Linked DNA regions of Homo sapiens: regions 2, 3, 4 and 5 are each linked to region 1. The links are contacts of gene promoters, found by promoter capture Hi-C in blood cells and fetal thymus (Javierre and others, 2016). All regions are on one chromosome and are shown on one strand. The core of a region is centred on a gene start or on the middle of the fragment in contact, and the rest is flanking DNA. Distances in the headings are between cores, read along the strand shown.

Region 1 (5,558 bases), core at 2,023-4,522:
CTGGAATTCCATTTCAAGTCACCCAACAGAACACAGATCTGACAAACATACTACACATATACTACACATGATCTGGGAAAGAATAAAAGAAAATAAGAATTTGTTGTTAAGCAGTTTAAATTTTTTTTCTTTTTTTTTTTGAGACGGAGTCTTGCTCTGTCACCCAGGCTGGAGCACAATAGCATGATCTCAACTCACTGCAACTTCCACTTCCTGGGTTCAAGTGATTCTCCTGCCTCAGCCTCCTGAGTACCTGGGATTATAGGCGCCCACCACCACACCTGGCTAATTTTTGTATTTTTAGCAGAGACGAGTTTTCACCAGGTTGGCCAGGCTGGTCTCAGACTCCTGACCTCAGGTGATCCACCTGCTTCAGCCTCCCAAAGTGCTGGGATTACAGGCGTGAGCCACCGCACCCAGCCAGCAGTTTAAATTTTATTGACCTTCCAGTTTCTTTTAAAAAGTTTAAGGTCACACCGCTAAGTCTGACGTGCTACATACAGATGGTGCAGAATATGAGTATGAAGAGATACACATTGGTCCATGTCCCAAAAGATTACAGAATCATCTCCATAAATACACAAAAGAATTATTGTGAAGACACAAGGGCACTGTCCAGGTTTTCTAAGACACTTTTCTAAGTGACTTGAGGCATAAAATCCACACCACTGTGAACACACACATTGTAGACTTTGTGTCTCTGACACAGACCATCAAAGATTTGGCATCATGACTCTCAAATGTACTGGAATGAGATTCTGCTTCTTAGGTAAAAAGCCACAGCACCTACACATATCATGCAGATAATTACTCCAAAATATGGAGAAATACAGATACAAGCCGTTGAAAATAAGAATTTTTAAAATGTGGAATATAAGACTAATCTCTTTCCCCCTGAAATCTACCTCTTGGGAAATACATTATCTTCTCTATGAAGCTCTACTGATAAAATGCACTTTCAACTAAATGAAATACTCAAGCTGAACTTGTTGTTAAGGCAAGAATCCCAGGGAGAAGCAGTGCTGACCTGGAATACAGACATTCGTCTGACTCCAGTGTCAGCAGAGGTCATCTTATCTATCAGTTGGAACATCCCTCTACCCCCATAGTGCTCACTGAAATGCTCAGTGACCACCCGCCCAAGAGACACTGCATTACGCGACACTGTGTACCCAAAGTGCATTTTGTTTTTCAGGTTATTCCACCACCTCGCTGAGATAGTTTTTCTCCCTTCACAAGGCTGAGAGAATACAAAGGACAGGAATCATTTCCGTCTTTTCCCTTGTCGACCTAAAAAGTAGAGGCTGAAACACAAAATATGACCCAAAGTGTCTGAAAAAGGGGGACAGGATGTGGGCTGATACAAAGTTGTTTGTCAGGAATTCTCACTGATTTACAGAAGTAACATTGATAAGCGCGTGGCTATGCACTGTTAAGCTATAGGGTGTGGGTTCCAGGGTCCCGTGTTGCATTAGTAAGTTGATTATACCTACTTGTGGCAATAGCAGTTTCAAAAGATGAATTCATAGCTTCAGGGAGTTAGAAGGTGATTGCTGTATCACTTGAATGTCTCTATGTGCCCGTTCATTTAAAAGGACCCACATTTATCAGACGAAAATTATTTTTTTGAGGCCGGGTACAGTTACGCCTGTAATCCCAGCACTCTGGGAGGCCAAGGCAGGCGGATCGCGAGGTCAGGAGATCAAGACCATCCTGGCTAACAAGGTGAAACTCCGTCTCTACTAAAAACACAAAAAATTAGCCGGGCGTGGTGGCATGCGCCTGTAGTCCCAGGTACTGGGGAGGCTGAGGCAGGAGAATCGCTTGAATCCGGGAGGCAGAGGTTGCAGTGAGCCGACATCACGCCACTGCACTCCAGCTTGGGCGACAGAGAGACTCCGTCTCAAAAAAAAAAAAAAAAAAAAAAAGTTATCTGGGAGTGGTGGCGCAAAACTGTGGTCCCAACTACAGGGGAGGCTGAGGCAGGAGAATCGCTTGAACCCAGAAGATGGAGGTTGCAGTGAGCCGAGATCACGTCACTGCACTCCAGCCTAGGCGACAGAGCGAGACTCTTTCAAAACACACAAAAAATTTTCTTTTCTCAATCCTCAATACCAGCATCTGATTGGCTGACCACCAGTGTGTCTCCAAAGGATGGAAACTGGGGTTGGGGGAGGAAAAGCTGAGTGCCCCCAGAGGTTGGCTATTTAGAAGCAGGGTATGCTAGATTTATCCTAGTCCCAGGGCATTCTCCCAGCCTTCTATTTCAACTGTCCTCTAGGAAGACTCACCCAAGACCCAATATTCACTAGATCCTCCAAGAGACTTGGCAGCTGTGGGCAGCTTGAGTCAGCCCCAGACAGTTTTGAAACCCAGAACCAGGAAAAAATAAATAGGAGGGGGCGCTGAAGGCATATCACCCTGTAAAGATTCCAAAGGGGAACCTCAACTCAAAGACATTCTGATGAGGTATCTGTGCATAGAGGAGACAAAAGGACAAGCACAAAGGTTTCTTACAGCGGAGTGTCAAGGCTATGAACAGAAAACAAACCTTGATGAAAGAGTAATCCATTGCTTTGTTGAAAAATAAACAATGAAAGCACAATATCTGAAATGTAGAATATAGGAGAAACGGTTGCTAATGTCGTGAATGGAAGGGGAGAGGTTGGCGTTTGGAAAAGCGAAAAGAGAACAGGAAATTTGGGGATTTACTGCAAGCCCTGGAAACAGCAGGCTGGGGGACAGAGTGAGGATTTGGGACCCTGCATCCCATACACTTAGAAAACTCAGGGAAAAACGGGTGTCCTCTGTGGAGAGAAAAGGAACTGGGAACCTCATACACCACAGCTCCTTCCACGCACAAGTCAGGATTTCCCCCACCCCATGACCCTCGCGTGGGCCCCGCACAATCTGAAGAGACTTGGGTCTTCGGGGCCGGGGCCGCAATCGCGGCACAGGGCGGGACGAGGACGCCCGGGGTCCCGGCTGCCGGCCCAGCCCCACCCTGAGGCCGAGGGTACCAAGGGCTGAGCTGCGCCAGAGGGACTCGGTACGCAGACCCAGAGTCGCCCACGGGAAGGCCCGGGCCGCGCCACAGCCAGTTCCGGTCGTCCAACCAGCCCCTCCTCCCTGTCTCGGGACGCAGGGCCCGACACACTCACCATTTCCTGACTCCCGGGTGTCCCAGCTTCCTCCCTCCGGATCCCAAGGCAGGTACAGGAAACCGCGCCACAGAGACTCCAGGCGAGCCACTCTGGGCCTCTGGGACTAGCGAAGCGAAACCAAGTACGGCAGACGCGAGAAATGAAAATCCCGCGAGAAGGTTGAACGTCTGCAGCTGCGTCCCCGACGGCGCGCCTGATTGGACCGATCGCAGAGCTCCTCCCCGGTGCCCCTGATTGGGTACAGCTTCGGGCTCTGCCCCCTGCATCTTGACAGATGTGAATGACAGGAGATGTGAAGCATAGATGAGTGAAGCGGGAATGAGGGGTCTTGGCCCCAGCCCTCAAACGCAGGGTGGACTTCTTCCCCTCGTCCCCTTCACTGTACTTGGTCTGCGGGGGATGGGGAGATGGGAGATACTTGCATTTTAGCAGAACTTAATCCGGGTTTACCAAAGGAGATACTTCCTGTACTCAGTGGGTCATTTCTTCATCTACCTCTTGCATGAGGAGTCACAGGTGTGCGCAGGGAGTTCCAGGCAGGACTGGAACAGAAGAAAGGGCGTGATATTCCCAGGGATCGGAAATTTGGGATGAGGATATGGGAAGCGTGCCCAAGGCTTTCTCATACCATACCTCTTTATCTCTCTCTATTTTTTACTTTATTTACTTATTTATTACTTTATTTACTTATTTATTACTTTATTTATTTATTTGAGACAGGGTCTAGCTCTGCCACCCAGGTTAGAGTGCAATGGCATGATCATAGCTCACTGCAGCCTCCATCTCCTGGGTTCAAGCGAACCTTCCGCTTCAGTCCCCTGAGTAGTAGAGACTACAGGTACATGCCACCAAGCCCGGCAAATTCTTTAATTTTTTGTAGAGACGGGATTTCGTTTGTTGTCCAGGCTGGTCTTGAACTCCTAGCCTCAAGTGAACCTCCCACTTTCGCCTCCCAAATCAATCTACTCATTTTCACCCAAGAAAATAAAAAACTGCCAACAAGTGAATAAAATTATTAAATACATGGAAAAACAAGTTCTATTTCCGTAATCTGTAAAGAAATCAAAAGGGAAGTAAAGCGAAAATTTGAACTAGCTCAGATAAGCAGGGCACTTCAGAACATTTAAAAAGGAAAAGATGAATTCAGAAGGTAGAACATATTCCCAAGCTTAAGAGTCAGTGACTGCTGAAGTGGAGCCACAGAGTACATTAGACCCTGATGATGAGGCAGGAAACCTAAGGATTTAACTCTGGGAGCTCAACATGCCCTCCTGTCACAGCATCACAATGTGGGAACGCTCCCTCCTTCAATACCTTAATAATTTACACCAGCAGAAAACTCTCACCTGTGGTCAATTTAGGCCCCTTGAAATTCCAACCTCTCTAGCTCATAAACCATTTCTCTGGAACGCTACCTAAATGAGTCTCTAAATATGATCTTTACATATTTTCTTCATATATACAAATTACAGCCTGACTGCAGCAACTCTATACATAGAAAAATCAAGGCCGGGCACAGTGGTTCATGCCTGTAATCCCCAACACTTTGAGAGGCCGAGGCGGGCGGATCACTTGAGGTCAGGAGTTCAAAACCAGCCTGGCCAAGATGGCGAAACCCCGTCTCTACTAAAATTACAAAAATTAGCCGGGCGCCTATAATCCCAGCTTCTGGGGAGGCTGAGGCACAAGAATCGCTTGAACCCGGGAGGTAGAGGTTCCAGTGAGCCGAGATCGCGCCACTGCACTCCAGCCTGGGTGACAGAGCAAGACTCCGTCTCAAAAAACAAAAAGTTTTCCGGAAAACTACCTTGGGAAACTAGAGGTACAACCTCAGAAAGGAGAGAAACCCGCACGTGCATTTGCCTGTGAAGTTCCTGCTTTCCAGGGCTCTGCAGCTTCTCAGAATCCACACTCCTGGAGCTGGAGCTGGAGCTGTTCGGAGCAGCTGGAGACTACCTACAGGGGAAGGCAGGCTGCCCAGGAAGCAATCGGGGGAGCTCCCTTTCCCTCCCTTTGCAGGCTCCAGATTAGTCTCAGTGTGGATCACCGGCCTCAGGCTATGCTGCCCCCTGCAAGTTTTCCACCTGCTTTTCACCCACATTGTTCAGTTCCACGAGGCAAACACCCTCAATCCCAGTGTTCGAAAGAGAATCCAGCAGAGTCCCTGCTTTCCTCCTGTGTTTACCGTAAAGTAGAAGAGAAAAATTTCAAGACAGTTTTAAGTGGATTTTAAAACTGGCAAATAATTATTCCTTTGATAAAATGAAGAAGCCAGCAAACTATTATTTCGACATTAACAAACTGTTATATAAAACCACTAATGAAGGTCGGGCGCGGTGGCTCACGCCTGTAATCTCAGCACTTTGGGAGGGCGAGGCGGGCGGATCACCTAAG
Region 2 (5,558 bases), core at 172-2,671, 500 kb before region 1:
CCTGCTGCTGGGGGAGATGCTGTCCATGTTTCTAGGGGTATTCATTTGCTTTCTCGTTGAAACCTGTTGTTAATAAAGTTTTTCACTCTGGCTGTCAGCCTCTTCTGTTCAGTGGGGTGTTCCTCCTACCTGGCGGGAAGGGCTCTAGCCCCATAGGCCTGGTGTGGGGCCCCAGTCTGGAGGCTTCTGGCTGTTCATTTGCTTACTTCATAAACCTTGTGTCTTAAGTCAGGTGCTAGGGACAAGACAGTGACTTCTGCCCTCTGGCAACTCACCAGATGGCCCTGCTGACCTAGATAATCTAGGCTTTGGTTTCCTTTTTTTTTTTTCCTTTTTAAGAAAGAAAATGGTCTTGATCTGTCATGCAGGCTGAGTGCAGTGGCACAATCTATGTTCACTGCAGCCTCAAACTCCTGGGCTCAAGCAATCCTCCCACCTCAGCCTGCCACGTAACTGGGACCACAAATGCGTGCTACCATGCCCAGTTAATTCTTGTTTTTTTTGAGACAGAGTTTTGCTCTTGTTGCCCAGGCTGGAGGGCAATGGCATGATCTTGATCTCGGCTCACTGCAACCTCCGCCTCCCAGGTTCAAGTGATTCTCCTGCCTCAGTCTCCCAAGTAGCTGGGATTACAGGCATGTGCCACCATGCCCAGCTAATTTTTGTATTTTTACATTTTGTGTAAAATTACAAATTTTGTGTTTTCAAACCCGTCTCTACAAAACAACCCATGTTGCCCAGGCTGGTCTCAAACTCCCAGGCCCAAGTGATTCACCAGCCTGGCCCTCCCAAAGTGCTGGGATTGCAGGCTTGAGCCACTGCGCCTGCCCTGGGCTTTGTTTTCTTATCAGAGAATGAACTGGTAGGAATTGGGAAAGGCATGAAAGACTCGGGGTCCTTCCCCACTTGTCAGACCCTCTTTTCTCTCCGGAACACCCAGGGATCCTTCTCAACCAGGCTGGATCCCATCCCTGGTACTCCAGGGGTATTTACCCAACGTCCCAATCCCCACAGTATAGGACTCTTCATCAGATCCTCCTCTTAGGCAAGCTAGGTCCTTCCAGGACCCTAGCGCTGAAGGTCCATGGGACGGACACCCTGGATTCCCATGGACACACTACACCGGCTAGGAAAACCCGGCCCCCTTAGGAAAAGCACTTCTGCTCCTACCGGCATTAAGAGGCATTCCGTCTTGGAATTCCGGCATTAAGAGGCATTCCGTCTTCATAGCCCGTGAGACGCCAGTGTCACCTTTAGCCCAACCAGTGCCCTGAGGGTGGCATTTTCCTACCTTCCTGTAACGACCCCCGGGATTGCCCAGGGCTACAGCCTCTCTCCCGTGAGCCTCCAGACCGCGCCCTGGCCCCGCCCCCCACCCCGATTGGCCCGGCCGGGTCTGGGGGCGGGGCGTTTGCCCGGCCTTTCCAGGGCCGGGGAACCCCAGGAGGAAGCTGCTGAGCCATGGGCGCCTACGCGCGGGCTTCGGGGGTCTGCGCTCGCGGCTGCCTGGACTCAGCAGGCCCCTGGACCATGTCCCGCGCCCTGCGGCCACCGCTCCCGCCTCTCTGCTTTTTCCTTTTGTTGCTGGCGGCTGCCGGTGCTCGGGCCGGGGGATACGAGGTGAGTGGGGCCTCCGAGCTGAAACGTACAGGAGGCAGAGTGAAACCCAGAATACAGTCTAGAGGTGTGGGTGGGTCTGTCCTGTGGGTGTCTAGTGAATGGCTGATGATATGACAGTGTGGTCTGAGTGCGTGCTTTGTGTCATTGCGAGGTCTGGCTGTGCGCATCTGAGTATAGGACTGTGTCTGATTGTACCTGCCTCCGTGTCTCCGGGATGCTTGCCTAGACTTTGTCTGCACTTAACTGTGGGATTGGAGGGGCAGGAGGTGGCAGGGGGTGAGCAGTGTATGTGTGGGGGGAGGTGCTGGCTGAGAGCTGGGACTCTGGAGTCTGCCTGAAATTCCAGCCTAGCTCTTACACTTCCTGAGTGTGTGACGTTGGGCAAGTCACCTATCCTCTCTAAGCCTCAGTGCCTTCATCTGGAAACTGGGGATAACATCACCCCACCTCCCACGGTGGCCGTCTGCTGTCGGCAAATGCTGAACAAACATCAGCTACTTCTATTATTATTTTCCCGGAGTGTGAATGAGAGCTGCCCTGTGGGGTTGTGCAAAGTGGAGTTGTATCTATGAGCACAACTATGTATGTGTGTGTCCTGCCTGGGAGGGCCTGGCCTCCTCTGCACATAGGCGAGATCAGGCCTCTCTGAGTCACTCACCTCTAGATCAAGACTTACTCTGCAGCCCCCGACCTCGGGGGTTATTGACAAGGTATGTGTGTTTGGGGTCCCTGTGCAGACATGCCCCACAGTGCAGCCGAACATGCTGAACGTGCACCTGCTGCCTCACACACATGATGACGTGGGCTGGCTCAAAACCGTGGACCAGTACTTTTATGGAAGTGAGTAGAGGATGGGGACTGGTCCCTGGGATCCCCATGGTCCCTGTAATCCCTCTGGGTCCTGGACATTAGGGTGGGGCCAGTGCTACCCTAATATCCAGGGTTTGGGCTCCTCTGTCTAGGAATAACCCCCTTGGCTCTGCTGTTCCCTGAGAGCCTTATCCCTGTTATCCACAGTCAAGAATGACATCCAGCACGCCGGTGTGCAGTACATCCTGGACTCGGTCATCTCTGCCTTGCTGGCAGATCCCACCCGTCGCTTCATTTACGTGGAGATTGCCTTCTTCTCCCGTTGGTGGCACCAGCAGACAAATGCCACACAGGAAGTCGTGCGAGACCTTGTGCGCCAGGGTGAGCCTACCCCAAGGAAGTGAAAAGAGGAAGCCCAGCCCAGCTTCTGCTTCTGCATCTCTGGTTTCTGAGATTTGTCATGCCACGTGCAAGCTGTATAACATGCGTGTCGCTCCGCCTGCCTGGACTCTCCATTTGGAGACCTCCTATACATCCCACAAAGCCCCACCTGCTGTGCATCCTCTGGGAAGCCTGCCATGCAGGGGGCCTCTTTCCCATATCTGGGAACTATGGCCTGGGAGCGACCCCTCTTGTCCTTCCGCCAGAAATGTGTACACAGGCAGGCTTTCACATTCCCAGTATCACCCACCCTACTCCCACTCCTGGCTCTGACCGCTGACCCTGACCTTGCCTGTCCTGGCACAGGGCGCCTGGAGTTCGCCAATGGTGGCTGGGTGATGAACGATGAGGCAGCCACCCACTACGGTGCCATCGTGGACCAGATGACACTTGGGCTGCGCTTTCTGGAGGACACATTTGGCAATGATGGGCGACCCCGTGTGGCCTGGCACATTGACCCCTTCGGCCACTCTCGGGAGCAGGCCTCGCTGTTTGCGCAGGTGCGACCCGGGACCTCTCTTGGGCCCACTTCTTCACTCACTCTGGCTCCTCCCTCGCCCAGTCAAACCCCGCCCTCTCCCTGCAATCTCACAAGGACCAGGCCCAGGCCTAGGCCTGTTGAAGCCCTGCCCCTTGAGTGAGCCGTAAAGCCAGTGGCTTTTGAGCTCTGGCCTCAGCCGGCTATGCCCAGCCCAGGCTGACCCAGCTCCGGCTGGCTCCGCCCTCTCCCCTAATAGGCCCCTCTTGGTGTTCTGGCCCCACCCACTAGCTCGGGTCCTGGCTCCTCCCTAAACCGGGTGGCAAGTGGATGCCTAGGCTGCCTTAAAAACAGGTTCATTACCTGTGCTCAGACCCCATCCATCCTCAGGCTGTGGAAGGGGGAACCTCATTCCTGGAGTCAGGCCTGCTCTGCGCTTTGACAGTGCTGGGGAGGTGAACCTGGGTTCTGATGTTGGACCCGCCCTCTCCCTGCTAGCCCAAGGTGGTGAGTTCTGAAACTTCCCCAAGCTTGGAAATAAGCTGGAGGCCTCTCTGTTTCAGCCCTACGTGTTTTTGTTTTTGTTTTTTGAGACAGGGTCTTGCTGTCATCCAGGCTGGAGTGCAGTGGTGCAATCCTAACTCACTATAGCCTCAATCTCCCGGATTCAAGCGATTCTCCTGTCTCAGCCCCCCTAGTAGATGAGACTACAAGAGCGCACCACTACGCCTGGCTAATTTTTAAATTTTTTGTAGACAGTCTGCCCGTGTTGTGCAGGCTGGTCTCAAAAACTCCTGGGTTTAAGTGATCCTCCTGTTTTGGCCTCCCAGAAGGCTGGGATCATAGGCAAGAGCCACCACATCGACCTAGCACTGCTTTTTAACCTGTGCTCTGACCTGCCCCTCCCAAGCAGAGGGGAGTTTGGTGGTGAGAGGGCTGGGCACTAATTCACACTGCCTTTTCCTCCCTCATCCCCAGATGGGCTTCGACGGCTTCTTCTTTGGGCGCCTTGATTATCAAGATAAGTGGGTACGGATGCAGAAGCTGGAGATGGAGCAGGTGTGGCGGGCCAGCACCAGCCTGAAGCCCCCGACCGCGGACCTCTTCACTGGTAGGGGGCTTGGTGAGGGCAGGGCCAGCCATGGTGCCACACACTCAGAAGGGCCCTGGGCTTGATATCTGCTCTGTTGTCACTGTCCTGGAATTCCTATAGTCTGGGAACAAAGGCCCTGCATTTCCTTTTGCATTGGGACACAAATTCTGAAGCCCATCCTGGGTGGGACATGGCCGGCTTTGAAACCAGGGAAGGTCTGGGTGATGGGCCACCCCTTGAACTTGGTGTGACCTGCAGGTGTGCTTCCCAATGGTTACAACCCGCCAAGGAATCTGTGCTGGGATGTGCTGTGTGTCGATCAGCCGCTGGTGGAGGACCCTCGCAGCCCCGAGTACAACGCCAAGGAGCTGGTCGATTACTTCCTAAATGTGGCCACTGCCCAGGTAACCCTGGTGTCCAGAACCTTCGAGTCCGGTATATACAATACAATGAGCTCTTTCCATGGTACAGGCATCCCCTAACACGTTCTCCTTATTTTTAATTTTTTTGAGACAGTCTTACTCTGTCACCCAGGCTGGAGTGCAGTGGTGCGATCTCGGCTCACTGCAACCTCTGCCTCCTGGGTTCAAACAAGCACATCCAGCTAATTTTTGTATTTTTGCACTGGGGTCTCATCATGTTGTCCAGGCTGGTCTCAAACTCCTGAGCTCAAGTGATCTGCTTGCCTCGGCCTCCCAAAGTGCCGGGATTACAGGCATGAGCCACCGCACCTGGCCTCTATTTTTAACATTTTTATTTATTTATTATTATTTTTTTTTTTTTGAGACAGAGTCTTGCTCTGTCACCCAGGCTGGAGTGCAGTGGCATGATCTCAGCTCACTGCAACCTCCGCCTCCCGGGTTCAAGCGATTCTCCTGCCTCAGCCTCCTAAGAAGCTGGGATTAGAGGCACCTGCCACCACACCCAGCTAATTTTTGTATTTTTAGTAGACAGGGTTTCGTCATGTTGACCAGGCTGGTCTTGACCTCAGGTGATCTGCCCGCCTCAACCTCCCAAAGTGCTGGGATTACAGGTGTGGGCCACTGTGCCTAGTCTATTTTTAACATTTTTATTGAGAATTCCTTTTTTATTTTTTTTAGACTCACTCTGTCGCCC
Region 3 (5,558 bases), core at 1,279-3,778, 420 kb after region 1:
AATTAAAGGGGAAAGTCTTTTCAACAAGCTACTAAGGAAGTTGAATATTGACCTTCAGAAACACGAACTGAGCTCCTTACTGCATGCATTAAAGTTAACTCACACTGAAATGGTACATTTAGCAGCAGATATTAGAGGATATCTTCGTGACAGAGGGTTGGGGAAGGAGTTGTGTTTCCTTTTCTTTTAAAAAACTCAGAAATAGCCGGGTGCAGTGGCTCACAACTGTCATCCCAGCACTTTGGGTGGCCGAGGCAGGCAGATCACCTGAGGTCAGGAGTTTGAGACCAGCCTGACCAATATGGAGAAACCCTGTCTCTACTAAAAATATAAAATTAGCCAGATGTGGTGGCGCATGCCTGCAATCCCAGCTACTCAGGAGGCTGAGGTGGGAGAATTGCTTGAACCCGGAGGCAGAGGTTGCGGTGAGCCGAGATTGCACCATTGCACTTCAGTCTGGGCAACAGGAGCAAAACTCCATCTCAGAAAAAAAAAAAAGACAAACTCAGAAATAAACATCCTAACTCAGAAAAGCATGGTGTTGCCATAGAACTGACTGTGAGGAAACTAACAGCAATACTTTCTATATTGTGTTTAAACTTGCACATACAAATTTTGGGCTTTCTAGCTTCTCTTAGGATTTCTTTTATACTTTCTCTGGGGGAGGGGGTGTGGGTCTCACCATTGTTGATTTTTCCTTCATCATGGTAATGCGAACAGCTATTTTTGTCTGGAAGCTTTTATATGTATTTAAATCATTGCAGAAATCAACTACTTACTTGTTGCCATTTGTAAAAATATACAGAATCTGTATATAAACCCCTGACAATCAGTTAGTTTGATACATTGTGCCCTCTTTTAATATGTGTGGAAACAAATAAATAGAACATTGTTCCAGGAGCAGTTAATGTGAGGAGTGAGGGGTGGAGCATTTCATAAAATAGTAGTTTATCCTTCAGAGAGCAGTTTCTAGCATAATAGACTGTGGGAGTGTGTGTGTGTGTGTCTGTGTGTGTGCTTATTATTTTTTTTTAAGGAAACAGTATCATTTATGCATTAGGTTATACTCAGACGTCATTTTTTTCATTCATTTTCTAAACGTGCCCATTTGTCCTGGCAGAAAATGCTATAGTTTCTAGAAGTTGATTGAAGATTTCATTTCATCTATTGACATCTCATGTTCAGCTCCTTTCTATTTAGCCATGGCTACCAGCTTCTAGTTCATAACGCTTTTTTTTTTTTTTTTTTGAGATGGAGTTTTTTTTTTTCCTCGCTCTGTTGCCCAGGCTGGAGTGCAGTGGTGTGATGTCGGCTCACTGCAACCTCTGCCTGCCGGGTTCAAGCGATACTCCTGCCTCAGCTTCCTGAGGAGCCGGGATTACAGGAGCGTGCCACCACACCCGGCTAATTTTGCGTTTTTAGTAGAAACGGGGTTTCATCATGTTTGTCAGGCTGGTCTCAAACTCCCGACCTCAGGTGATCCACCCGCCTCAGCCTCCCAAAGTGCTGGGATTACAGGCGTGAGCCACCGCGCCCGGCCATAACGCTTTTAAGTCTAGTATTTTTACTTCATAAACATATGGAGAAAGGCTAATGTTTTCAAATTCAAAGTGTGATGTCTTGGCTTTTGATTGGAGCGTTTAATTCATTAACATTTAATGGCATAAGGAGGGAGCATTTCCACGCTGTGCAGAGGGGACAGGTATTTTGAGACCTCAGAGTAAAATTCTTAATTGTCCCTCCCTTATCACCAGCTTCTGATCCACCCCGGAGCTCCATTTTAGGAATCATTGCCTGGCTTCCCAGCTTGGGGATATGTTTGACCTCCTGAAAGGGGGTCTGCTTGTGAACTGTGAGTGCAGTAGGCTGCTTCTCTGAGCTTGTTCAAGTTTTTGCTTTTCTTCTCTTTTGATTCTTTATGAAATATTGCTGCCATATAATTCCAGTTTTTCCACATACTCAACTATTTTATTTTGTTGTCCTGTTTTTATCTTCTGGGCTGAAAATGAGTAGATTGAGAGATAAGGTGAGGGAAAGGCTTGGCAACGTCGCCAACAGCCTCATCCCAAATTCCTGATCCCTGGAGGACATCAGGCCCTCCCTCCTGCTGCAGGGTGGCCTGTGTGCCCCGGGCTCCCCTCCTGCTCCGAGGTCCGGGAATGGCTCCACTGGACAGGGAGCCTGGAATTCCCTGCACACACTTGTGAGTCCCTGTCCAGGAGGAAAAAGCAGGAAGAACCCACTGAATACAATCAGGAAATTCTAAAATGCAAACGTCACTTCGGGAGGGGTCAGGTCACTCCGTTGGGAGGAAGCCCGCCTTGCCAAGGGTCGTGCCTGGAACCTGTTCATCCGGCTCCACTCAGCACTGTGAGATCGCTTCTTCTGTCAATCAGCCACCAAGGGGCGGGACCTGGAGCACTATCCAATCAGGGATGAGGGGGCGGGGATTGTGAGAACTGTCAATCAGGCACGCTGCAGGGAGGAGGGTGCGACGTTCAAAGAGCCCGCGGAGTCTTCTCCACGCCCCTGCGCTCTGAGTCCTGGCTCTGGCGCTGAGAGAGAGACGCCCTGGAAGGTCTGTATCAGCGTCTGTCGCGCTGGGACCCACACTGGCTTTTAAGGAGGACACCCGGACACCTGGAAGCTGGGAAATGGTGAGTGTGCGGGGCCCGGCGTCCCGAGGCAAAGAAGGGGCAGGTTGGAACCGGCCGGAACCGACCGTGAGGGGACCCGGGCCTCGCCCTGGGCGACTCCGGGGTCTGCAAATCCCAGTGCCCCTGGCGCAGCTCTGCCCTTGGTCCCCTGGGCCGCAAGATGGGGCTGGGGCGGCAGCCGGGACCCCGGGCGTCCTGTCCCGTCCCTGCTCGGCCGCTGCGGCCCCGGCCCCGGCGCCCTCTCTGGGCAGCTCCGCGCCCGCAGCTCCGCGTCTCCCCAGATTGTGCAGTTGTAACCGGCACAGGTTCACGGCCCGAGTCACTGCACCGAGACGCCGAAGGCTGCAGCAGAAACAGTTTAATGGGGGAGAGGGGAGGACACCCCAGATCCGCCTCCCTGAGAGGTTTGGGGATGGGGTGTTTAGAGGTGTGGACAGGGACGGCTGGAGTGTGGGGTCGCTGGTTGGTGGAGAAGTGAGAGGTGACTCCTGGGACTGGAGGTGAAGAAACCGCATTCTGCTGAGTGGGTTCCCTTGTGGGGTCTTCAGCCTGGTTGGCGCCAGCCTTTCCGCTGCAATTCAGGATCCGAGAAAGAACTGAGGCGACCCGTGAGCAACTCTCAAGAGATCTTATCCCCGGGCACGATGAGGAAGCCGGCGGTCAGCGTCTGCTGTGACCTGACTCTCAGGGAGGCGGCCCCGTGAGGCAGCGGGGCTGAGGGCACCTGGTTAATATCTAACTGCAATCTCGCCTCCAGCCTGGCTCGCAGTTCCTGTGAACCCGGTGAGGACGCTGCACGGTGACAACGGAGGGTCACCAGGCAGAATCCAGACTCGTGTGTGTGGGCTTTGTGCTTTGGAAGAGAAGCTGTGATCTGTGGGTTCCCCAGTCCCTTCTTTCTTCCCAAAGGTGACCGGTTTCCCTCCGAGTCTTCCAAAGATGTGGGCAGCAGGGTCTCAAATCCACCACCCTATCCCCTCATCCTAACTCCTCCTAGGGCTGGCAGCAAATCTCTTGGTTTTCAGAGCCTTCCCCAGGCTAACTGTCTCTCATCAATTCCCAGCAACTTTATGAACTCTTTGTCCCTCAGGCAATATTTCAAACAGAGGCATTATTTTAATTGTCACTTTCTTTTCACATAGCAATGTATGGCTCTTTTTAAAAGATGTGTTTTTGTGTTTGTGAACATTTCACATGTGAGGAAGCAAAGAATAACCACTTGACTCCAGTGTGAAAAAAAAAAAAAAAAAAAAAAAGCCGGGCGCGGTGGCTCACGCCTGTAATCCCAGCACTTTGGGAGGCTAAGGCTGGCGGATCACCTGAGGTCGGGAGTTCGAGACCAGCCTGACCAACATGGAGGAACTCCGTCTCTACTAAAAATACAAAATTAGCCGGGGTGGTGGCTCATGCCTGTAATCCCAGCTACTTGGGAGGCTGAGGGAGGAGAATTGCTTGAACCCGGTAGGCGGAGGTTGCGGTGAGCCAAGATCACGCCATTGCACTCCAGCCTGGGCAACAAGAGTGAAACTCCGTCTCAGAAAAAAGAAAAAGAAAAAAAAAATAGTGCATGTGTGGCTGTCCTTTATCTTGTCTACACAGAGATACCCGAATATTTTCAGTCGAGGTTCCTCTTTGCAAATGGCACAGGGTGATCTGTCAGCCCACCCTCTATGGTGTCCTGGTCCTGGGTTACAGAACTGTTTGGGGCTGCTCCAAGATGCTCATAGCTGCTAAGTCTTTTGTAGTGTCTAGTGAATATCAGCTTTGAGTCACTCCTCCCAGAGGACAGCCAGAGGTGGGGGGTGGGACCTTATAGGGGAGCAGCTGGATGTCGTGGGGTGGGAGGAGTTTCCTGGTATACTGTTCCTCAAAAAGCAAAGCCCTTAAGACATTCAGCTTTTCTTCCCCACCCCAGTTTCCATTCCCTGGGGACACATGGCTGATGAGCCAGCTGGTTGGCGGTATTGAGGGAGCTTCTCCTTGGAGGGTAATTACTCAGCAGTTCAGTGAGCAGCACTGGGGTGGGAGATGTCCCAAGTGATAAGAGGACCTGAACTGACACTAAAGTAGTCAGATTTGTCTGTGTTCCAGTCAGCCCCTCCCTGCATTTGTCATCTTGAAAAGATTTGTTCACTCATTTCAGCTTTTTATTAACTGCAAAATGCATTTTATCATTAGAGCTTAATAAAGAAGATAAAGTATGTTCAAAGAGACAAGAACAAGTTGGGTTTCAGCAAACTCATTACATATTTAGTCCTATATTTTATTTCTTTTTAAAACTTTTATTTACTTTTTTTTGAGACGGAGTCTCGCTCTGTCACCCAGGCTGGAGTGCAGTGGTGGGATCTTGGCTCACTGCAGCCTCAACCTCCTGGGTTCAAGCAATCATCCCACCTCAGCCTCCTGAGTAGCTAGGATTACAGACGTATGCTACCATGCCCAGCTAAAACTTTTGTATTTTTAGTAGAGACGAGGTTTCACCATATTGGCCAGGCTGGTCTCGAACTCCTGACCTCAAGTGATCCACCTGCCTTGGCCTCCCAAACTGCTGGGATTATAGGAGAGAGCCACCGTGCCCAGCCTCAGGTCTGTTTTTTTATTGGATGATTTCAAACGGAATTTCAGGGCCTAGCAGTGAACAGAAATTGGGAAAAACTTTTCCTTTATGACTGCAGAAAAATGAATACATTTTTGCAAGAAAGTGTGGTGGATATATTGATGAATTATAAAGATTTACCAAAATGTTAGTTCGTCTCCTTTGTAGAGTGGAGAATTTGAGACAGTGGATAACTATTCTGTTCCTGTTATGTGGACTTGACAGACTAATGCTAAATTCTGTGGGACAGGACTTTCCAACAGCTAAAGAACTCAAATATCATTATTCATTTACTAAATGATTTA
Region 4 (5,558 bases), core at 1,912-4,411, 350 kb after region 1:
TCCCTTCCCCCTTCCCCGGATGGACAGTTGACAGGGCCCCGCCCCAGCACCCCTGATTGGATGGGGCGCCAGGCCCCGCCTCCTCCGTGCTGAGTGACAGCAGAAGCCCTGGGTAACCGGGTCCTGCAGATCATGTCTGACTTGTTCTGGCCACAGCGTCTCTGAGCGAGCAGCCTCTCTAAGCGAGCAGCCTCTCTAAGCGAACAGCCTCTCTAAGCGAGCGCCTTCCTTGAGCCCTGGTCATCAGATATTTGCATTTCAAGGCGACTTGCTCCTTATTGTTAGAAGAGGCACTGTTAGCTTCCTCATTCAAGGGGCTGTCCCTGCTCCTTCCTTCTGCACGGGATCACAAGTGTGTGCAGGGCATTTCAGACTCAGTGTTCAATGGAGAGATACGCTTGCCTCAGAGCAGGAGGGGAGCCCAGACCAGGCAAGGCACGACTGCACCAGGAGAGAGAGGCAGATGTCTTCCAGCGTGCGGGAAATGGGATGAGGCATGGCCAAGGCTTCCTCACACTGCTATGGACTCCAGCAAGGTTTTCCTTGTAAGGGAGCTAACCAAGCCAGAACTTATTAAAGATTTAGAGGCTCTCAGTACTATGTATATCTATCCCTGGTGCATTGACAGTGACTGAAGACCCATTTTTCAGGACATGCTGTGTAGGACTGAGCCAGGGAACATGATATAGCATGGCACTTTTATCTCACATATAACCCCCAAGGAGCAGGGTTAACTGAAATGAAAGATGGTCTCAGGGGAAGCTGTAAATGAGAAATTCTGTCATAGAAATTATGATTTAGGCAGGCCGGGCGCGGTGGCTCATGCCTGTAATCCCAGCACTTTGAGAGGCTGAGGCAGGTGGATCACGAGGTCAGGAGTTCAAGACCAGCCTGGCCAACATGGTGAAATCCTATCTCTACTAAAAATACAAAAATTAGCCAGGAATGGTGGCGCATGCCTGTAATCCCAGCTACTTGAAAGGCTGAGGCAGGAGAATTGCTTGAACCGGGAGGCAGAGTTTGCAGTGAGCCAAGATCGTGCCACTGCATTCCAGCCTGAGACACAGTGAGACTCCATCTCAAAAAAAAAAAAATTATGTTTTAGCCATCTTTTTTTGAGACGGGGTCTCACTCTGTCGCCCAAGCTGGAGTGCAGTGGTGCGATGGCTACTCAATGCAGCCTCAACCTCCCAGACTCAAGCAATCCTCCCACCTCAGCCTCCTAAGTAGGTGGGACTACAAGTGCCTGCCACCATGCCTGGCTAGTTTTTTATTTTTGGTAGAGATGAGGTCTCATTCGGTTGTTCAGGTTGATCTCAAACTCCTGAGCTTAAGTGATCCTCCAGCCTCAGCCTCCCAAAGTGTTGGGATTACAGGTGTGCGCCTGGCCTCTTGGGCATCTTCATTGCTCCACACCTTACAATGATAAATTCAATATTCTGTGAATATTTCCTGGAGAAATTAGCACAGCCATAACTTGTGATAAGGTAAATCAGGTGTTGAAATTTGAACATTCCTGGAAACTTCATTTAATAAACCTAATTTTGCTTATGTGTGAAAGTATTCATACATATTCATTGTTCAGACACAGATAACCATGGCAAGATGAGGTGCTATGAAAAACTATGTTGGGACAACAGGTACTATCAAGGATTATCACTGGCAAACCGGGACACATGGTCAGATGATTTCTGAGGCAGTTTTGTACCTTATGTAAAGGTAGAAAGTGTTGGAACTAGAAGACATCGAGCTGGAGTCAGTTGCAGAATTGATGCTTTGCTTGGCATGTGGGGGACACTTCTCAAATATTTGCATTTGGTCACAGAAGTATTCCGTGTTGTGTGAGAGCAGAGGAAAAAGAGTAGACTTTTTTTCCACTCTTAAGTCTCAGCACAACTCAGAAATCCAGTCCCCCAGACAGGATGTGTGGATGTTAAAGTCGCCCTCACCACAAGAGGGAGCTTCATTGACTTCCCCTATCTGGAAAATGGCTCAAAGGTGTTTTCTAAAAGACTTTTTAATGTAAGGCATATCAGTTATTAGAAATAAAGGTAGGACAGGTGTGGTGGCTCACACCAGTAATACCAGCATTTTGGAAGGCCAAGGTAGGAGGATCGCTTGAGGCCAGGAGTTTGAGACCAGCCTGGGCAACATAGTGGGACCCTGTCTCTACCCGAAAAAAGAAAAAAAGTTAAGGTAACATCACTGAATTTGGTTTCATTTACATGATTTTTCTTTTCTTTTCTTCTTTCTTTCTTTCTTTCTTTCTTTCTTTCTTTCTTTCTTTCTTTCTTTCTTTCTTTCTTTCTTTCTTTCTCTCTCTCCCTCTCTCTCTCTCTCTTTCTTTCTTTCTTTCTTTCTTTCTTTCTTTTTTTTTTTTTACAAGGTCTCCCTCTGTCACCCAGGCTGGAGTACAGTGGTGCAAACAGAGCTCACTGCAGCCTTGATCTTCCGGACTCAAGCAATTCTCCCACCTCAGCCTCCCAAGTAGAGCCTGGGACCACAGGTGTGCGCCACCAAGCCCAGCGAATTTTTGTATTTTTTGTACAGATGGGGTTTCACTGTGTTGCCCAGACTGCTCTCCAACTCCTGGCCTCAAGTGACCCTCCCACTTTAGCTTCCTAAAGTGCTGGGATTACAGGTTCTGAGGCACCATGCCTGGCCAATTTAATTTTTCATAGATTGATTTTTAAAAAGTAATGAACCTGGCTGGGCATAGTGGTCATGCCTGTAATCCCAGCACTTTGGGAGGCTGAGGTGAGTGGATCACCTGAGGTTGGGAGTTCGAGACCAGCCTAGCCAACATGGTGAAACCCCATCTCTACTAAAAATACAAAAATTAGCTGAGTGTGGTGGTGCATGCCTGTAATCCCAGCTACTAAGGAGGCTGAAGCAGGAGAATCGCTTGAACCTGGAAGGTGGAGGTTGCAATGAGCCGAGATCACACCATTGCACTCCAGCCTGGGCAGCGACAAAGAGAGACTCTGTCTCAAAAAAAGAAAAAGAAAAAGAAAAAGAATAAGCAATAAACCCTGTGAACTTTGATTAGATTTCCCAGATCCTAAAAAGTGCAGTGTAACAAAAAACTGAATGGAAAGAAGTAGGACTAACTGAGGTGAGAGGAAGAACCCTCTGTGGAGGTGACATTTGAGGTGACCTGATATAATGTATTAGTATAAAGAAAATGTTAAAATGAACATTATGGGAGGCCATTGTTTTGGACTGAGCTTCTGCACTAGGCACTTAGAAACCAGATCAGACCAAAATGGAGTCACTCATGCTAAATGCCACATAACGAAACTGAAACTTAAAGGAAGCGAATAGATCCCTATACAGATGAATTTTTCCATCGAAAACCAGTTCAGTATCCTGTTGGCCAGACTGGTCTCAATTTGAGAAACATCAAGACACCTCCATAGTCAAGGCTAATAATGTCCAGGCTGTGTCCTGTTCATCACCTAAACCTGCACCTCTAGTGTTCCTTACCTTCACTGGCCATCCCAACACAGTGCCCGCCTCCTGTAGAAAATCACATCTGGAGTGAAGTTGGTGGCGTTGTTTGTACTCTAACCAAACTCTCAGAGTGCATTTGGCCTTCAAGGGAGAAGGATGAGGTCGTGTTTGGTTTCAGACACACCTAACTCTGTATTACCATCTCTTTCTTGATCTAAGCGACACTCTATAAAAACTGATAGGCAATGGGCTGGGTGCAGTAGCTCACGCCTGTAATCCCAGCACTTTGGGAGGCCGAGGCAGGTGGATCACAAGGTCAGGAGTTCAAGACTAGCCTGGCCAACATGGTGAAACGCCGTCTCTACTAAAAATACAAAAATTAGCCGGGTGTGGTGGCGGGCACCTGTAATCCCAGCTACTTGGGAGGCTGAGGCAGGACAATAGCTTGAACCCAGGAGGCAGAGGTTGCAGTGAGCCAAGATCGTGCCACTGCACTCCAGCCTGGGTGACAAAGTGAGACTCCATCTCAAAAAAAAAAAAAATGACAGGCAATGACAGTACCTTTCACTTATGTTGATACCTAATCTGGGGATGGATGTGTCATCTGCACATAGAGTCAGGGGTTGGTCACTCATTGCTGCTCTGTCCTGTGGTACCAGGTTTTGACTCTAGGGGGTTTCAAACAGGCTTCTCTGAAGAAGAGTTTGGCTGGCACTTCAAAAAAGTGATTGGATTGGTCCATGCCACTGCATAATATATAAAACTAACTTTTCCATGTTGCCTATTACTCTACAGTGTGGCATAAAAGGGTTGCTGAACTCCTGTTCGAGATCAGCCTGGGCAACATGGTGAAACCTTGTCTCTAAAAAAAAAAATACAAAAATTAGCTGGGCATGGTCCCAGCTACTTGGGAGGCTAAGGTGGGAGGATCGCTTGAGCCCAGGAGGTGGAGATTGCAGTGAGCCGAGATCACGCCACTGCACTCCACATAGCCTGGGTGATAGAATGAGACCCTGTGTCAAAAAGAAAAAAGAGGGGTGCATCAAGAGCATATTATCTGAGCAAGAAAGGCTTGGTTGGAATAGTGATACTGACTTTCATCCTTCCTAGGCGTGCATTCAGACAGTTACATAAATATATTGACCACACTTGACTCAGTAAGGAATTTCTTTAAAAGTATTATACAGCTTCCTAAGGAGTAAGTGATTTTATATATTTTTAACTGGAGCATTTTGTGGAACAGTGTTCATACACTCTAAGAAATATCTTAGGTTTTGGAGAATAAGTAAAGCAAAAACAGGTCCACAAGTCTGGGAGCTGCCTCCCCTCACCACAAGGCCAAATCTTAAGCCATGTCAGACACCTGCAGTGTGAAGCAGTGCTCCTCAGTGACCATGATGGAGCAGGACAAAAACGAGGGCATTCTGTAACCACGTCCCTAGATGGGATAGAAGAAAACATATTTCAAATCATAAAAATAACCAAAAATTCCAGTTCCCCTCTTCTCATAATGGACTGACCAGCAATTGTCTTCAATTAGGTTTACCTCCAATCCATTCTTTCTCCTTCTAGGTGAGAACTACTATGATTAGCAGTGGTACAATTAAGTTCACATCCTGACAGCATCCAATATACAAAAATGACTCACCTCCTTGAATAGAGAACAATGCACCTAAAACAGAAATCCTGTAAGAAATTCTACAGAGAACCCTCTTATTGGTATGTCCTGCAGTCATTTATGGCTTGTGGTCATATTTATTACTACAATTTATTACATCCTCTTTGACAACAGTTTTTTTAGTACTGGTGGTTTTGGGCAACACAGCACCATAACAGCAAGATTTAACTTCGGGGATTATAAAAGAATGACAAATTATGGTCAAGATAAAAATTGTGGCTGGGAACAGTGGCTCACGCCTATAATCTCAGCACTTTGGAAGACTGAGACAGGAGGATTGCTTTGGCCCAGGAGTTGGAGACTAGCCTGGGGAGCATAACAAGACCTCCTCAGTACTAAAAATTAAAAAAAAATTAGCCAGGCATGATGGTGCACACCTGTAGTCCCAGCGACTCAGGAGGCTGAGGCAGGAGGATTACTTAAGCCC
Region 5 (5,558 bases), core at 2,121-4,620, 280 kb after region 1:
CACCTTGGCCTCCCAAAGTGCTGGGATTACAGGCATGAGCCACCGCGCCCAGTCAAGTGATTCTGTTTTCTTAAGCTATTTGGCTAGTAGGCCTTAACTGGTCAGCTGTTTTTTGATAAGATCCTTGGTGTAATTCATAAACTGCTGCTAATTATAATAGATGTAATTTATCGAAGCTACATTTTTATTAATAGTTATTCGGGGAAATATGGGTTTAAATCTTGCAGTTATTTGGTCTCAGGTTTTGAACTTGTTAGGCACTCCCCATGGGACTCTAATGGCCTTTATGTAAACTTGAGAGTCAAAAGACTTATAAGGGGCTTCTCTTATTTTTTGGTGTTGTGGCTTTTCTTTTTTTTTGGTTGATGAAATGCCAGTGTGAAAGGGATCGCCAATTGGACAAGAGCGCAAGTGCCGCTCCAGTTACTTGGCAGAGTATCCAGTAAAGGTCCACTACAATACCACCATACATCTGCTTGAGGATGACTAAGGGCAGACTGATGGGTAAGTTTTTGGAAGGGCTTAAGCTTATTGCATCTTGTTAAGCTTCTAAGGAACGCCAGATTCTCCCCTCGTCGTGAGAGACATGAGGTGAAATTGACGTCAGGAGAAGGAAGCTGAATGGCCTTTGGGGGCTGGCCTGCAGGTTGTTGGACTTCGGGATATAGCAGAGAGAGAGCTTGGCATGATTTGTTGCCCCAGGCTGTGGAATTTTGGAAAAGAGCTACCATACAGCCTATGCCTGGTCGGCTGAAGGGCTATCCTAGTGGAAAGGAAACAGTCTGGGCCTCTAGTCTGCCATGCATACAAGCGTAACAATTGCTTTTGTTCAATGTGCGGACGGAATATTGAATCCATTCCAACCAGGTATTTACATCTTGATATCCTGTTTTAATTGCTAGGGTTTGTCTTAAATCTTTTACTTCTACAATATTTACTTTAGTAGTATCATTAGGTAGAAAACAGGTGGCAGTCTGATTAGAAGAAAGCTTAGAAGGAGAAGAGAAGGAAGGGGGTGAAGAGAATGAAGGATTAATAAAACGCATTTCGAAAGATCTTATGAGGTCTGTGCTGGCCAAGTTGGCTCCTGTTCCATAGAAGTGACTTAAAGTAGGTTTAGGGTCAGTAGAGGTGGAAATTTGTATGGGATTACATTGATTATACTGGCAATTGGGGAGGTGCTTTTTTTAGTGAAATGAATGTATGGTTTTAAGGATATACAGCCACCTGCTGATGAGGTCTAGCCTTGACATTTGGTTGTCCATAGGACATCATTCTAGCTATGACAGACTTGTTTTCTTATATTTGTTAAGGAACAAGAGTCTTGGTAGGGGGGGCCTTTCACCTTAAAGGGGCAGAGATACTTTTCTGAGGCTGAGACTTGTCTTTGACTTTGGAGATCTTTACAGGGTATGACTAGACATAGCATTAAACGTGATAACTTGGGGTGAGTTTGATTGAGTTACATTAATGACAAGGTGGTCAGCATTGGAAGGGGAAAAGAAGAAAGAGTAATAGAATAGATGTAAGAGGTTAAATTTTTCTTAGCTTTAGTTTGAGGGGGTTTTCCCCTGGAATAATGGCCTACGACTTTGGGGGTGGCGGTGCTTTCTTGACTCGGGTGTGATGGGTCTATCCTTTCTCTGCTGTCCAGACTGCAGTTTCAATGGTGGGAAGTACTAGGCCAGCTCCTCAGGCCGGTGTTGACGCACTGGGAACTCCAGGAGCCGCACCTGTACTGGAAAATTGTGAGTTTTGAGGGAAGAGAAAGTGGAAGATAAACCAAGTATGTAGGAATGTTGGCAGTGGATTGCTTTGAGAGGTAGTTTGGATTAATAGGAAGACAGAAGACATTTGAGTTATGGCAACTAAGTTTCTAGACTTGTTTGGCTAAGGATGTACATTTTCATACACATATAAACTTTAACTGTGCTATACATAGCTTGAGGTCTTTAATGGGTCCTCTAATTTAGGTGGGATAGGACTTCTTTCATAAGAGGTTTAAATAACATTTGAATTCCCTTCAGTGCCTACAGGAGAAACGGCAGCTGGTTCGGATTATCTGATTTGCTAGGTTATTTTCTTAACTCTTGAAAGATAGGATTTTTGGTGCCTGGGGACGTGGAAAATAGCTTTTTTTTTTTTTCTGGTAACTGAAGGTTATTTAACACTTGGGTTATTAACTCTTCATGAACAAGGCTTTGACCTTTATTATTGTCTGAAATTTTCTAAATGTATGAGCCACGATAAAGGTGTATTTAGAATCAATATAGATTAGTATAGATGGTTCCTTTGCAGTTACTTTAAAGCTTGACTAAGTGCAAACAGCTTACAAATTTGGGTAAACTATTAAACAATTTTTAAATTTTATTTCTCTAGGAACTTCTCTATTTATTATTGAACATCTGTTGAATCCTTTTTCCTTTAATCATTTTTGAAGGGGGTTTCTCTTAAGTTTGGCCGGACATTTGTATGGTAATCAGTTAAATCTAAACATGTGTGCTTCCTTTTTAGATTTGGATCTTTCGTTAAGAAACTTGTTAGGTTAAGCAAATTACTAGTAACATTAAACTATCATTTTTAACAGAATAGCCTCATATTTATACACATGTAATTCTTTTTTGGTGGTACATTTTAACATAGGTGACTTTAAAGAATCAGAGTTCTTTTCTGGTGGATATTTTCACTTTTAACACTGGCCTGACTATAATAAATGCTAGTGGATATATCCGCTGAAAGATTATCTACTTCTTGCTCAGGAAACTTAGCTGCGGGGATGCCAGGCTGCTTGGAGCCATCGCTGAAGCCCCGTATTACTTAGCCTCAGCAAAGTAAGGCAGATATCCTATAATGTAGTTTGCATGGGGCATAGGCTGGGGCCTGGCTCGCATGTCATGCAGAGCTGCCGTCAATACAGTGCCAGGACCTTGGACCAGCCAGTGGGCAGGAGCATGGGCTTTGCCGCTGCAGGGGTGCACTATGGGCCAGACAACGCTGACAACATGTTGCGGCAGATCCTTCATGTTGCTAGCCTGGCAAAAGCCATCTGGTGAATTAGGAGCTTGGAGTTCTTTAGGGGAGAGGGACTTAGGCTGGGGAAGAACAGACTTACTGGGCGATGCCTGAGGGGAAGGGTTGGGTATTAGGTGGGGAATGGTCTAGGGGATCTTGCGAGTTGTTCTTTTTGCTAGGATCCCCCAAGCCCCTTCCTTCACTGTCTTTTTCATTAAAGATGGTTCTATCTTAATAGGGCACATGTACAACTCATTTTCCTCCAAATATTAGTTTTTGACTTGCTCCTTTCAATCCTTGGAGGAGGGGAAAGGACAACTCCTTGCAACTAACATAGGGCATAATTTGTTTCTTCTCAGGAGGCAGGTCTTCTACTAGCAACATTTTCTATTAGAAGTTCACAAATCCATCCCTCATTCGACTTAAATTCTGGCCAGAAAACTAAGGGTTCAAGGATTCGTTCTTGAGTCTAAATGGAACAGCAATATTTTATCACTAATTGCTTTTTCTTATGTTTAGTCTTTTCATTATCTTTCTAATGTTTTAACATGAGACCTAGGGGACTATTAGGGGGGATATCTTTGTTGCTAACTTTGTCTTTTTTGCTTGTAATATTTCCTATACTGGGTCCTGGCTAGGCTCAATCCCTCGTGATAGGAATCTCTTGCCTAGGGGGGCTTGCTGTGGCTCAACCCCTCATATTAAGGATCTCTTGCCTATTTTGGGGGTTCCTTGTGGCTCAGCCTCTCAAATTAAGGATCTCTTGCCTATTTGGGGGGTTCCTTGTGGCTCAACCCCTCATATTAGGAGGTCTTTTGCCTATCCCTCACTGGAAGTGTGGCTAAGGCTCAATTCCACTATCCTTTAGCTCCACCTGCTGGAGGTTCCTTGCACCCTTCTTTCGCTTCATCCACTCTGGCCGCTTCCCTCGCAGGTTTGTTTCAGGTTCCTCTTAGCATTGATGGCAGGTCCGTATAAACCTGTGACAGGACCCCCGCAGGGCTGCCCTAAGCCGTGTGAGGTGACCACAGAACCGCAGATTGGACTCACTCGCTCCGCACAGCAGTAGTGCTTGTTACCATTCATGCACTTTCAACCCCCAGAATGCCCTGACACACCCCTCCGACTACCAAAGAATTACTTTGTTGCCCCTGCAACGTTTCCCACCTTGGTCTGTGCACAGAGTTTACCTGGTCGCTGCGGTATTGCAAGCCTCTCTTCCCCGCGTTGCTGAGAGTCCGGGTTTATTCGTCAAAATGGGTGGGTCTCGATCTCCTGTCCCTGAGGCCACCGCAATGGGGCAGTGGGACGCGTCTCCCCAGGGTAGGGTGACTGAAGAACTCTTCCAAAAGGAGCATGGGGATCTCGGACGATCCCCTAGAATTGTTGGATATAAAATGCTCCCGGAATAAAAGCTTGGTGCCGTGAAGTAAAACCAGCACTCAGGCAAAATTTTAATTCTCTCAGCAAGGCAATTTACTACTGCAGAAGGGTGCCACTCACGTCAATCAAGATCACAAGAGCACAGAGAACAAAGGAGACCAGGAGGTTTTTATCCTTAATGCGGTCCCTATCTCTGTGTTACTCCCCCATGGGCTGGGGTCGGACCGCACAGTCTGAGCTGACCCGATTGGCTGCTTGTACATATTTTTCTAAATATAGAAGGGGAGGGGGATGTGAGGTACAGAGGTGGAGCATGTGAGATGTGCAGTTTTGGGGGAACAATGGGTACAGGTAACCAAGGGAACAGATGTGAGTTATTGATTAGAGCTGATGGGAACGGGGTAGGCTGTTTTAAAGTAACTAGGGGCAAGGAGGAACAGGAAAGTTGAGTTTGAGAACAAAAGACGAGGAAGTTAGCAGGCTAAATCTTTAAAGAAAAACTTAAAGAAATTCACTGTATCTTACAAATCTGACCCCAGTGGCCCCATGCATGTCAAACCCCAAACCCTGCCCAGAAGACAGCCCCAGGCTCCAGAGGTACAACACCAGAAAGGACAGAACCCCCACACATACGTGTGCATGTGGGTCTTCTGCTTTCCAGGGCTCTTCAGCTTCTCGGAATCCGCACTCCTTCTGGAGCTGCTCTGAGCAATTGGAGGCCACCTGTAGGGGAGGGCGGGCTGCCCGGAAGCCCCCAGGAAAGGCTCCTTTCCCTTCCTTTGCAGGCTCCACACTGGCCTCAGCGTTGAGTCACCGGCCTCGGGCTCTGCTGCCCCCTGCAGGTTATTCAGCTACTTCTCACCCCATTGATCAGTTCCATGACACAAACACCCTCAATCCCATTGTGTGAATAAGACACCAGCAGAGTCCCTGCTCTCCTCCTATGTTTATGTATAAAGTGGGGAAGGAAAATTCTAAGATAACTTAAGTGCATTTAAAAGATTTCCAGATCGTGGTGGAGGTGGCAGCTGAGGGACGCACGTTCAGTGACACTGCAGTACCTCCGGGCCTGGCTGGTTGGAGAGAGGGTGGAGAGCTGGAGATGAATGTGGATATATGGAGGGAGCAGCCCTGGGAACCGGGCTCTGCAGCAGCGCGGCTCT

What was found. Contacts are between HindIII fragments. The CHiCAGO score rates a contact against its expected background, and 5 or more counts as called.
Region 2: a contact is called between the fragment with the promoter of MAN2B1 here and the fragment with the promoter of ZNF136 in region 1, in 1 of 17 cell types (fetal thymus). The highest score is 5.7, in fetal thymus.
Region 3: the fragment with the promoter of ZNF823 here is called in contact with the fragment with the promoter of ZNF136 in region 1 in 3 of 17 cell types (M1 macrophages, erythroblasts and non-activated CD4 T cells); the score reaches 6.6 in M1 macrophages.
Region 4: a contact is called between a fragment that was not itself captured here and the fragment with the promoter of ZNF136 in region 1, in 1 of 17 cell types (neutrophils). The highest score is 7.4, in neutrophils.
Region 5: a fragment that was not itself captured here is called in contact with the fragment with the promoter of ZNF136 in region 1 in 6 of 17 cell types (naive CD8 T cells, total CD8 T cells, total CD4 T cells and 3 more); the score reaches 9.2 in naive CD8 T cells.

What each region holds. Positions count from the first base shown.
Region 1 is chr19:12,160,810-12,166,367 of GRCh38, reverse strand. ZNF136 (zinc finger protein 136) reads right to left here and starts at 3,272. Exons shown (of 4, transcript NM_003437.5): 1 at 3,162-3,272. The coding sequence starts at 3,164. RefSeq lists enhancers at 3,172-3,331, 3,342-3,431. The HindIII fragment of the contact is 16,254 bases long and covers 1-4,334 here.
Region 2 is chr19:12,662,605-12,668,162 of GRCh38, reverse strand. MAN2B1 (mannosidase alpha class 2B member 1) reads left to right here and starts at 1,421. Exons shown (of 24, transcript NM_000528.4): 1 at 1,421-1,620; 2 at 2,358-2,460; 3 at 2,638-2,811; 4 at 3,178-3,371; 5 at 4,328-4,460; 6 at 4,701-4,846. The coding sequence starts at 1,462. It overlaps WDR83 (WD repeat domain 83), which reads right to left and starts at 1,356. Exons shown (of 11, transcript NM_001099737.3): 1 at 1,171-1,356. It overlaps WDR83OS (WD repeat domain 83 opposite strand), which reads left to right. Exons shown (of 4, transcript NM_016145.4): 4 at 1-90. RefSeq lists a silencer at 1,279-1,558 and enhancers at 1,809-1,938, 1,959-2,088, 2,149-2,198, 2,739-2,788, 1,855-2,802 and 2 more. The HindIII fragment of the contact is 17,009 bases long and covers 1-3,881 here.
Region 3 is chr19:11,735,916-11,741,473 of GRCh38, reverse strand. ZNF823 (zinc finger protein 823) reads left to right here and starts at 2,528. Exons shown (of 4, transcript NM_001080493.4): 1 at 2,528-2,657. The coding sequence starts at 2,655. RefSeq lists silencers at 2,350-2,544, 2,805-2,954 and enhancers at 2,555-2,634, 3,025-3,154. The HindIII fragment of the contact is 8,001 bases long and covers 740-5,558 here.
Region 4 is chr19:11,808,710-11,814,267 of GRCh38, reverse strand. No RefSeq gene overlaps it. Among named protein-coding and RNA genes, the nearest start is that of ZNF440, 2.8 kb to the left of the region's middle. RefSeq lists silencers at 81-160, 1,895-2,004. The HindIII fragment of the contact is 8,771 bases long and covers 1-5,558 here.
Region 5 is chr19:11,879,726-11,885,283 of GRCh38, reverse strand. No RefSeq gene overlaps it. Among named protein-coding and RNA genes, the nearest start is that of ZNF69, 5.3 kb to the left of the region's middle. RefSeq lists an enhancer at 3,784-3,963. The HindIII fragment of the contact is 2,118 bases long and covers 2,312-4,429 here.